2 separate regions of the Homo sapiens genome follow, and region 1 is linked to region 2. Evidence: promoter capture Hi-C in 16 types of primary human blood cells and fetal thymus (Javierre and others, 2016). All regions are on one chromosome and are shown on one strand. The core of a region is centred on a gene start or on the middle of the fragment in contact, and the rest is flanking DNA. Distances in the headings are between cores, read along the strand shown. Region 1 has its middle 2.5 kb from the start of ACP2. Region 2 holds the start of PTPMT1 (protein tyrosine phosphatase mitochondrial 1).

Region 1 (4,851 bases), core at 1,516-4,015, 310 kb after region 2:
ACACTCGGGGATCTACCAAGTCACATATCTGGCCCCCCAGAACCTCCACAGGTTTCTTCTCACAGCAAGGAGAAACTTGAAGCAGAAACAGGAGCATTCACCAGCCATGGTCACAGGTAGTACTGGCTAACTGCCCTGAAAGTACTCATTCCCATGAAGCAGGCCACAGGGTAAGGTCTGCAGGGATGGACCAGGAGAACTGCTTCTTGTTCCCTCCTTCACCGTTCTGGAAGGGTGGAAAGTGCAGGGATCATCTTGCAGACCACTGCGTATCTACTCAAGTGACTTCTGCCCAACCTTCCAATCACAACATAGAGAATAATCCAGAAACCTGGATTCCCAGACCTGAGTTCAGAGATGATACAGAAGGCAGAAAGGAAAGATGTGACATTTATTTCATCCCTACTACATACATTTATCTTTACATGCATTATTTCATTTATTCTCACAGTAAACTCTAGGAGATAGTTACTAGCAAGGGGCAAATATCAAATTTGAATACAGGTATAAGACTGGGTGTGGTGGCTCACACTTGTAATCCTAGCACTTTGGGAGGCCAAGAAGGGCAGATCGCTTGAGTCCAGGAGTTTGAGACTAGCCTAGGCAACATGGCGAAACCTCACCTTTACAGAAAACACACACACGCACAAAAATTAGCCAGGCGTGGTGGCATCTGCCTGTAGTCCCAGCCACTTGGGGGGCTGAGGTAGGAGGACTGTTGGAGCCCAGGAGGTCGAGGCTGCAGTGAGCCATGATTGCACCACTGCACTCCAGCCTGGGTGACAGAGGGAGACTGTCTCAAAAAAAAAAAAAAAAAAAGAATACAAGTTTAGCTGATTCAAAAGTTTGAGCTCAAGCTCAAACAAACAAAAATCACAAATACACTCCATTATATAAAACTGCCGGCTGGGGCCGGGCGCAGTAGCTCATGCCTGTAATCCCAGCACTTTGGGAGGCCGAGTGGGTGGATCACTAGGTCAGGCTAACACGGCGAAACCCTGTCTCTACTAAAAATACAAAAAAAAAAAGCCAAAAAAATTAGCCAGGTGTGGTGGCAGGTGCCTGTAGTCCCAGCTACTCGAGAGGCTGAGGCAGGAGAATGGCGTGAACCTGGGAGGTGAAGCTTGCAGTGAGCCGAGACTGTGCCACTGCACTCCAGCCTGGGCGACAGTGGGAGACTCTGTCACAAAAACAAAACAAAACAAACAAAAAAAACAGCCGGGTGGGTGCGGTGGCTCACACCTGTAATCCCAGCACTTTGGGAGGCCAAAATGGGCAGATCACCTGAGGTCGGGAGTTCGAGACCAGCCTGACCAACATGGAGAAGCTGTCTCTACTAAAAATACAAAATTAGCCAGGCGTGGTGGCACATGCCTGTAATCCCAGCTACTCGGGAGGCTGAGGCAGGAGAATCGCTTGAACCCGGGAGGCGGAGGTTGCTGTGAGCCGAGATAACGCCATTGCACTCCAGCCTGGGCAACAAGAGCAAAACTCCATCTCAAAAACAACAACAACAACAACAACAACAACAAAACAAAACAAAAACTGCCTCTTCAGATGGAAAAAAAATGGCTAACATACCTGGATTTAGGTTTGCTTCTGCCAACACAGAATATGGTAGTGGTTCCTGTCCTCACCTTCAGAGATTCTGATTTATTTGATCTGGGATAGGCCCACATATCCATCTATCTACATGTGTTTTTTTTTTTTCTTTTTTTTTTTTGCACCTGTAGTTACGAACCAAAGTGTAAGAACCACAGAATCATCTGGCAGAAAATGCAAAAGCTGAAGGCAAAGGGGTGAAGAAACTAGGGCTCAGCTTCAGGCTCTACTATCTACTTGCGCTGTAATCCCCACCCTTCCTGGAATAGTTTCTCCCTATAAAAACTGAAATAGTATCTGCTTCATCAATCCCTCCTACGTGGGATACTTGCATGCACAAAGAATATAGACATATTTGAGCAAGTGGGAAGAAAAGCAAAAGCTGAATTTGAGAGATAGCTGAAATTTGGTGAGCCAAAGATTTACACTCTGAAAGTACAATGGTCTGGCTAGTTTGCAAGGAGTAAGAGGCCCATTAAAACAAAACACTCAACTGCCTCCCACTACCACTAATATGCAGCATTTTGCCAATTACCCAAGCCCTCTTTATTTTATTTTTTTTTTTGAGACAGAGTCTCGCTCTGTTGCCCAGGCTGGAGTGAAGTGGCACAATCTCGGCTCACGGCAGCCTCTGTATCCTGGGTTCAAGTGATTCTCCTGTCTCAGCCTCCCCGGTAGCTGGGATTACAGGCACACGCCACCACGACTGGCTAATTTTTGTATTTTTAGTAGAGATGGGGTTTCACCATGGTGGCCAGGCTGGTCTTGAACTGCTGACCTCAGGTGATCCACCCGCCTCGTCCTCCCAAAGTGCTGGGATTACAGGTGTGAGCCATGTCCGGCCTAGGTCCCGTTTAGTCCAACTAATTTGAAAAGGTTTCCTTTGACAGATACCTCTTTATTGAAAGGATTTCGGGATCACCAATTACAGTTTAGTAATGCAGTTTGAGTAGCCTGCAAGAAGCAGCCCATTATAGACTATTTAACTGAAAATCACAAAACCTGACTTTTTTTTTTTGAGACGGAGTCTTGCTCTGTCGCCCAGGCTGGGGTGCAGTGGCACGATCTCCGCTCACTGCAAGCTCCGCCTGCTGGGTTCACGACATTCTCCTGCCTCAGCCTCCTGAGTAGCTGGGACTACCGGCACCTGCCACCACACCCGGCTAACTTTTTGTATTTTTAGTAGAGATGGGGTTTCACCATGTTAGCCAGGATGGTCTTGATCTCCTGACCTCGTGATCCACCCGCCTCGGCCTCCCAAAGTGCCGGGATTACAGGCGTGAGCACGCACCCGGCCAAAACTTGACTTTTAATCCATTCTCAAACTGTGCCCATGCCCAAACTGTGAATTTGGGCAAGTCACTTCCTCTCTTTAGGTTTGTTTCCTAAGCTGTAAAGTAAGAGGACTAGGTTAAATCAGGTATTCAGAGATGCTGATTTATGAAACCTGTAATAAATGGTCTTTGTGAACCATTTGGGATTATATGCAAAATTCCATGTGTGTGTTTATATGTGTGAACATTTTTCTGGAGGAGAGGTGCAAAATTTTCATGTGATTCATAAAGGGGCTTGTGATTAAATAAGAAGGTTAAGAACTGTTTGGCTACCCAGGCTTTGGCTCTTACTCTATTTGCTTCTTGGCCTCCTCCATGACAACTCTGGAAGCAAAGTTTAAATCCTGAAGTATATATAAATAATTGAATCTGGAGTCCTAGGACAAAATAAAGACAGATAATCCTGATCTTTTTTTTTCTTTTCTTCTTTTTGAGACACAGTCTTGCTCTGTCATCTAGACTGGAGTGCAGTTGCACCATCATGGCTCACTGCAGCCTCAACCTCCTGGGCTGAAGGTGATCCTCCCACCTCAGCCTCCCGAGGAGCTAGGACCACAGGTGTGTGCCACCACACCCAGCTAATTTTTAAACTTTTTTTTGTAGAGAGGAGATCTTCCTAAGCTGCTCAGGCTGGTCTCCAACTCCTGGGCTCAAGCAATCTTCCCACCCTGGCCTCCCAAAGTGCTGGGATTAGAAACGTGAGCCACCACACCAAGCCTAATCAGGTTTTTGTTGTTGTTGTTTTGAGACAGTCTCACTCTGTCGCGCAGGCTGGAGTGCAGTGGCGTGATCTCAGCTCACTGCAACCTCCGCTTTCCGAGTTCAAGCGATTCTCCTGCCTCAGCCTCCAGAGTAGCTGGGATTACAGGAGCACGCCACTGCACCCGGCTAATTTTTTTTTTTTTGTATTTTTAGTAGAGACGGGGTTTCGCCACGTTGGCCAGGCTGGTCTCGAACTCCTGACCTCAGGTGATCTGCCTGCTTCGGCCTCTCAAAGTGCTGGTATTACAGGTGAGCCACGGCGCCCAGGCCAAGCCTGATCAGTTTTGTTTCCCAAAGATCTGAGGAGATTTGCTTCCAGTAGGCAGATCTGAATCAAAGCATCCCCAGGACCTATGATCTGACCTGCAACCGTCACAGGAGTCACAAAGTCCTGAGGCCAAACTGGCTGCACCTGAATCCTAATGGTCAATGCCAAGAGGGCCATTGATTCTGTGGAAACCCCACCTACTCCCACTTTATGATATGCGCCTGTCCCTTACCTCAAAATACCTCCCCACTGGTCTGAAATTCCTCCCCCAGGGATTCAGTGCTTTGGGTTTGTAAAGTCTGAACATCCTGTGCAACCCAACTCCTTTGGGAAGAGGCATGACATGACGTCTTGACTCTAATTAACTAAAACTTGGAAGTGGAGGGGAGGGAGGACAGGGAAAGGACTGGAAGGGAAAGTGAGAGGGCTACTGAAGCTTTGTGCAGGGCAGGAACGGTAGGCCAGACTGGGGCAACCTCAAGGACACACGGAGTCCAAAGGGTTGTTTACATACTGTGTCCTGCACCCCAAGCAAAACATCTCCTGGAGAACAGGGCCAGGGCTCAATCTCCCCACAAAGGCAGGGGCGTGGAGAGAAGCGACCTCTACTTTCCCATCCCTCGCCTCAATTCTGCACCCGATCTAGCTATGGGGTCAAGCCTGGAGGGGACGCTGGTTCTCCAGACATGGTCCCGCCCACTGCAAGTGCCACCTTGGTAAGGGATTTCTCCGAGCAGAGGCAAACGCGAATTTGTGGCCTTCTTAATCAAGATGAGGTCTTCGAGCCCTGTCTGCCGCGCCAGGTCGCGTTACCTTCTTATGCTCCTCCGCCACAGCCAGACCACGACCCTCCTGCACGCAATCCCACCGAGACTGCGCCTTTTC
Region 2 (5,094 bases), core at 939-3,438:
GGAGTTCGAGACGACTTTGGCCAGCATGGCAAAACCCTATCTCCATAAAAAATACAAAAATTAGCCAGGCATGCTGGCAGGCACCTGTAATTCCAGCTACTTGGGAGGCTGAGGCAGGAGAATCACTTGAACTGGGAGGCAGAGGTTGCAGTGAGCTGAGATTGCACCATTGCACTCCAGCCTGGGCAAGGGAGTGAGACTCCATCTCAAAAAAAAAAAAAAAAAAAGAAAAGAAATAGAAATAAGGTCTCTGGCAACTGGGCAAACTTTATGCTTTAAGACTTCAGATATGCTCCAGCTACTCTTGTTATTAACCTCTTAATAATGAGTATCAGAGACTTTATGGTTCTAAATGAAGATCAGTAATTCTTTTTTTTTTTTGAGACGGAGACTCACTCTGTCGCCCAGGCTGGCGTGCAGTGGTGCAATCTCGGCCCACTGCAACTTCTGCCTCCCGGGTTCAAGCGATTCTCCTGCCTCAGCCTCCCAAGTAGCTAGGATTACAGGCGCCTGCCACCACGCCCGGCTAATTTTTTTGTGTGATTTTAGTACAGACGGGGTTTCACCATTTTGGCCAGGCTGATCTCAAACTCCTGACCTCAGGTGATCCACCCACCTCAGCCTCCCAAAGTGCTGGGATTACAGGTGTGAGAGCCACCACGCCTGGCCAAGTCACAAATATTTTCAAGGTTTCAAAAAAATCCTCAGGTTGAAATAATAGTATCTTCATCATGCTATATCAGTAAAACAAATGAGAAAGATAATTGTTTAGTGCTATTAGATGCCAAACGCTATAAAGATAGGGCAACATTAAAAAAAAATCAAATAGCTCAGATTGTAGATAACATCTTCTAATAACCATTGTGGAAGATTCCACAAACAGGCCAGTCACATTTAATGAAAGTTATGTTTTAGGCCTAAACTTTGTTATGAGAGAACTTTGGAGTTCCACCATGATTTCTAATATATGACTAAAAATTCCCCCAAATCAGAGCCAAATGAACTCTACAGTTTTCAATGGATAGTTTTATGAAAAATCTGGGGAGGGGAGAGTGTTAAGGGGGTGCTTTTCGTCTTACAGTTGGCAGGGCCTTCATCTGGAATCCCTAACACTGGGAATGCTGACCCATACTCAGAGCTCAAAGTATAGAAAGAATGAATGAAATCAGGAAGGCATGGGAAAGTTGCCTTTCAATTTTAGTTTCTGATTTTGGTTACCGAAATAAGAATACATTACATTTGTTCACAAAGGAGAAATCAGGCTTTGTCAACTTCCACTTTTTTTTTTTTTTTTTTTGAGACATTGTTTCACTCCTGTCGCCCAAGGCTGGGCTGGAATGCAATGGCGAGATGTCGGCTCACTGCAACCTCCACCTCCCGGGCTAAAGTGATTCTCCTGCCTTAGCCTCCCAAGTAGCTGGGAGTACAGGCGCACGCCACCACTCCCGGCTACTTTTTGTATTTTTGTAGGGACGGGGGCCTCGCCATGTTGCCCAGGCTGGTCAGGAACTCCTGGGCTCAAGTGATCTGCCCGCCTCCTCCTCCCGCCTCCCAAAGTGCTGGGATTACAGGCGTGAGTCCCCGCGCCCGGCCCAACTTGAACTTTTAAATAAACGCCTTTCACAGCTTCTAGCCTACCTCCAGGTGCCATTTAGAGGCACAGACCGGAGGCAAAGCAGCTTGAGACACCTGGCTCCGGTGCATGGTGACCTCCCCCACACTTCTCTAGCCGTCCCAGGCTCAGGGCGGTGGGCGAGGGGGAGCGGGCCCCCGAGCCTGCCCCTCGGCCCGGTCCCTCACCTGTGAAGAGTTGCACAGGAACCTCGTCTCGTACTCCTCGTTCATGGTGATCACCCCGCGCACGTTCTCGTCCTGTACCAGCTGCCGAGGCAAAGAGGTGGCTCAGCAAAGACGGTGGAGACCCCAGCGGCCCGACAGGGACGGAGCGGCGGGGACGGGGCAGGGGCCCGGGCTCCCCGGCCCGGCTCACCTGGCGCGTCAAGCTCCGCAACGGCAGCGCGCCCAGCAGCACGGTGGGGTCGATGCGGTGGTACCAGTCCCGGTGCGCCCGACCCGGCACCTTCCCGCGGAACAGGGTGTAGAGCAGCGTCGGGTAGAAGAGCACCCGCGCCAGGCCGGCCTCCAGCAGCGCGGTGGCCGCCATCCCGGCCCGGCGCAGCGGCGACCCGTCGGCCCCCGCGCTCGCGGTCCGGACCCGCGAGAAGAGCAGGCGGGTGCCGGGGCGGGGCTGCCAGCTGCACTAGGCCTCTCGCGGGCTCGCACCGGGTGACGGCGGGGACTGGCCTGGACTCTGGGGGACTGGCGGGACTCTGGAGGAGGGCCCGGCGGCCTCGGAGGAGGGACCGAGGTTTCCTGGGCGGGAAACTGGGACCCCGGCGAAGGGAGAGCGCGTCGCAGGCCAGACACGTGTGAGCCCTGTAGCGTGGGAAACTGAGGCCCCCGCCTGTGGCCGGTGACCTCCCTCCTCCGAGGGAGGGGGGTTGTGACCCCAGGTGAGAGGGGCAGGAAGGACCCCTGCGTGTGGAACTGTGACTCCGGCCGAGGGAGGAGGGGACACTCCCCCCAACCCTCGACCAGAGGAAGGGGGCAGTGACCCAGGTGCGGGTGTGACCCCGCCAAAGGGAAGACAAGACAAGGAGAGGCTGTGTGGCGGGGTAGCCCTGAAGAGGACAGTGGAAGGGCTTAGAGCTTTCAAACAGAGGAGCTACCTGGGTGAGGGCCTGATCCCAGGGTGAACAGGGGTCCTGGGTTGAGGTCGCCTTCCTCCTCCCCTCCCCTGTCCTAGGGCAGGGCTCCCTCCTTCATCTGACCAAACAGCAGTGTTTACATAGCAGGAAAAAATAGGAAAATATACATTATATTAATATATCCTTAAGAAAAATATTATGAAGAGCTCAAATATAAAACCTGCAACCTACAAAAAGGTAAGAAGAATGGTTGTAATGCCAGCTATTTACTTTTTGTTTGTTTGTTTTGAGACGGAGTCTCACTCTGTTGCCCAGGCTAGAGGGCAGTCGCAAGATCTCAGCTCACTGCAACCTCCGCCTCCCGGGTTCAAACGATTCTCCTGCCTCAGCCTCCTGAGTAGCTGGGATTACAGGTGCATGCCACCACACCCAGCTAACTTTTGTTTTTAGTAGAGACGAGGTTTCACCTTGTCAGCCAGGCTGGTCTCGAACCTAAGGTGATCCGCCCACCTCAGCCTCCCAAAGTGCTGGCATTACAGGCATGAGCCACTGCACCCGGCCCAAGCATCTGGTGGAGTTTTTGTTTTTTGTTTTTTGTTTTTGAGACAGAGTTTCACTATTGTCACCCAAGCTGCAGTGCAATGGCGTGATCTCAGCACACTGCAACCTCTGCCTCCCAGGTTCAAGCAATTCTCCTGCCTCAGCCTCCCGAGTAGCTGGGATTACAGGTACATGTCACCACGCCCAGCTAAGTTTTGTATTTTTAGTGAGATGGCTTCAACATGTTGACCAGGCTGGTCTCAAACTCCTGACCTCAGGTGATCCATCCCCCTGGCCTCCCAAAGTGCCAGGATTACAGGCATGAGCCACCGCGCCCGGCTTTCTTTTTTTTTTTTTTTTTTTTTTTGTATTTTTAGTAGAGATGGGGTTTCACCATGTTGGCCAGGCTAGTCTTGAACTCCTGACCTATGGTGATCTGCCAGCCTCAGCCTCCCAAAGTGTTGGGATTACAGGCATGAGCCACACGCCCGGCCCAAGCATCTGGTGGAGATTTTGTTTGTTTGTTTGTTTTTAAGATAGAGTTTCACTCTTGTCACCCAAGCTGGAGTGCAATGGCGTGATCTCAGCTCACTGCAACCTCTGCCTCCCAGGTTCAAGCAATTCTCCTGCCTCAGCCTCCCGAGTAGCTGCCACCACGCCCAGCTAAGTTTTGTATTTTTAGTAGAGACAGGGTTTCACCATGTTGGCCAGACTGGTCTCAAAGTCCTGACCTGAGGAGATCCGTCCCCCTCGGCCTTCCAAAGTGCCGGGATTACAGGCATAAGCCACCATGCCCGGCCCATCTGGTGGTTTTAAAAGATTCATTTTCTTTTTTTTATATTTTGTTTTTGAGACGGAGTCTCCTTCTATTGACTAGGCTGAAGTGTAGTGGCGCCATCTCCACTCACTGCAACCTCCACCTCCCGGGTTCAAGCAGTTCTCCTGCCTCATCCTCCCCAGTAGCTAGAACTACAGGTGCCCGCCACCATGCCTGGCTAATTTTGTGTGTGTTTTTAATAGAGATGGGGTTTCACCATGTTGGCCGGGCTGCTCTTGAACTCCTGACCTCAGGTGTTCCACCCGCCTTGGTCTCCCAAAGTGCTGGGATTACAGGCATGAGCCACCGCACCCAGCCTAATTTTAGAATATTTTCATTGCCCTCAAAATAAGCCCCTTATGAATTAGCAGAGACTCACCATTTTCTCCCAATCATCCTCCAGCCTTAGGCAAACACTACTAACCTGCTTTCTGACTGTATAGATTTACATGTTTAGCATGTTGAGGGCATTTCTTCTTTTTACTTTTCTTTTTTTTTTTTCTAGGAAACAGGGTCTCACTGTCACCCAGGCTAGAGTGCAGTGGCAGCGTGATCATGACTCACTGTAGCCCCGACCTTTTGGGTGCAAGCAGTCCTCCTACCTCAGCCTCCCAAGGAGTTGAGACTACAGACGTGTGCCACGATACCTGGCTAATTTTTTATTATTTGTAGCGATGGGGTCTCACTATGTTGCCCAAACTGATCTCGGGACTGGGCACAGTGGCTCACACCTGTAATCCCAGCACTTTGGGAGGCGGAGGCAGAGGCAGGCAGATCACCTGAGGTCAGGAGTTTGAGACCAGCCTGGCCAACATGGTGAAACCCCGTCTCTACTAAAAAAATACAAAAATTAGCCAGGTATAATAGTGGGCGCCTGTAATCCCAGCTACTTGGGAGGCTGAGGCAGGAGAATCACTTGAACCCAGGAGGCGGAGTTTGTGATAAGCCAAGATCGCGCCACTGCACTTCAGCCTGGGTGACAGAGTGAGACTCCATATCAAAAAAAAAACAAAACAAAACAAAAAAAAA

What was found. Contacts are between HindIII fragments. The CHiCAGO score rates a contact against its expected background, and 5 or more counts as called.
Region 1: a contact is called between a fragment that was not itself captured here and the fragment with the promoter of PTPMT1 in region 2, in 1 of 17 cell types (neutrophils). The highest score is 5.2, in neutrophils.

Annotation. Positions count from the first base shown.
Region 1 is chr11:47,248,928-47,253,778 of GRCh38, reverse strand. It overlaps a transcript of NR1H3 not described here. Among named protein-coding and RNA genes, the nearest start is that of ACP2, 2.5 kb to the right of the region's middle. RefSeq lists a silencer at 4,522-4,689 and an enhancer at 4,770-4,851. The HindIII fragment of the contact is 3,279 bases long and covers 1,126-4,404 here.
Region 2 is chr11:47,562,693-47,567,786 of GRCh38, reverse strand. It overlaps PTPMT1 (protein tyrosine phosphatase mitochondrial 1), which reads right to left and starts at 2,188. Exons shown (of 4, transcript NM_175732.3): 1 at 1,991-2,188; 2 at 1,801-1,881. The coding sequence starts at 2,164. It also overlaps a transcript of CELF1 not described here. RefSeq lists silencers at 1,677-1,756, 1,887-2,366 and enhancers at 1,676-2,176, 2,177-2,677. The HindIII fragment of the contact is 17,352 bases long and covers 1-5,094 here.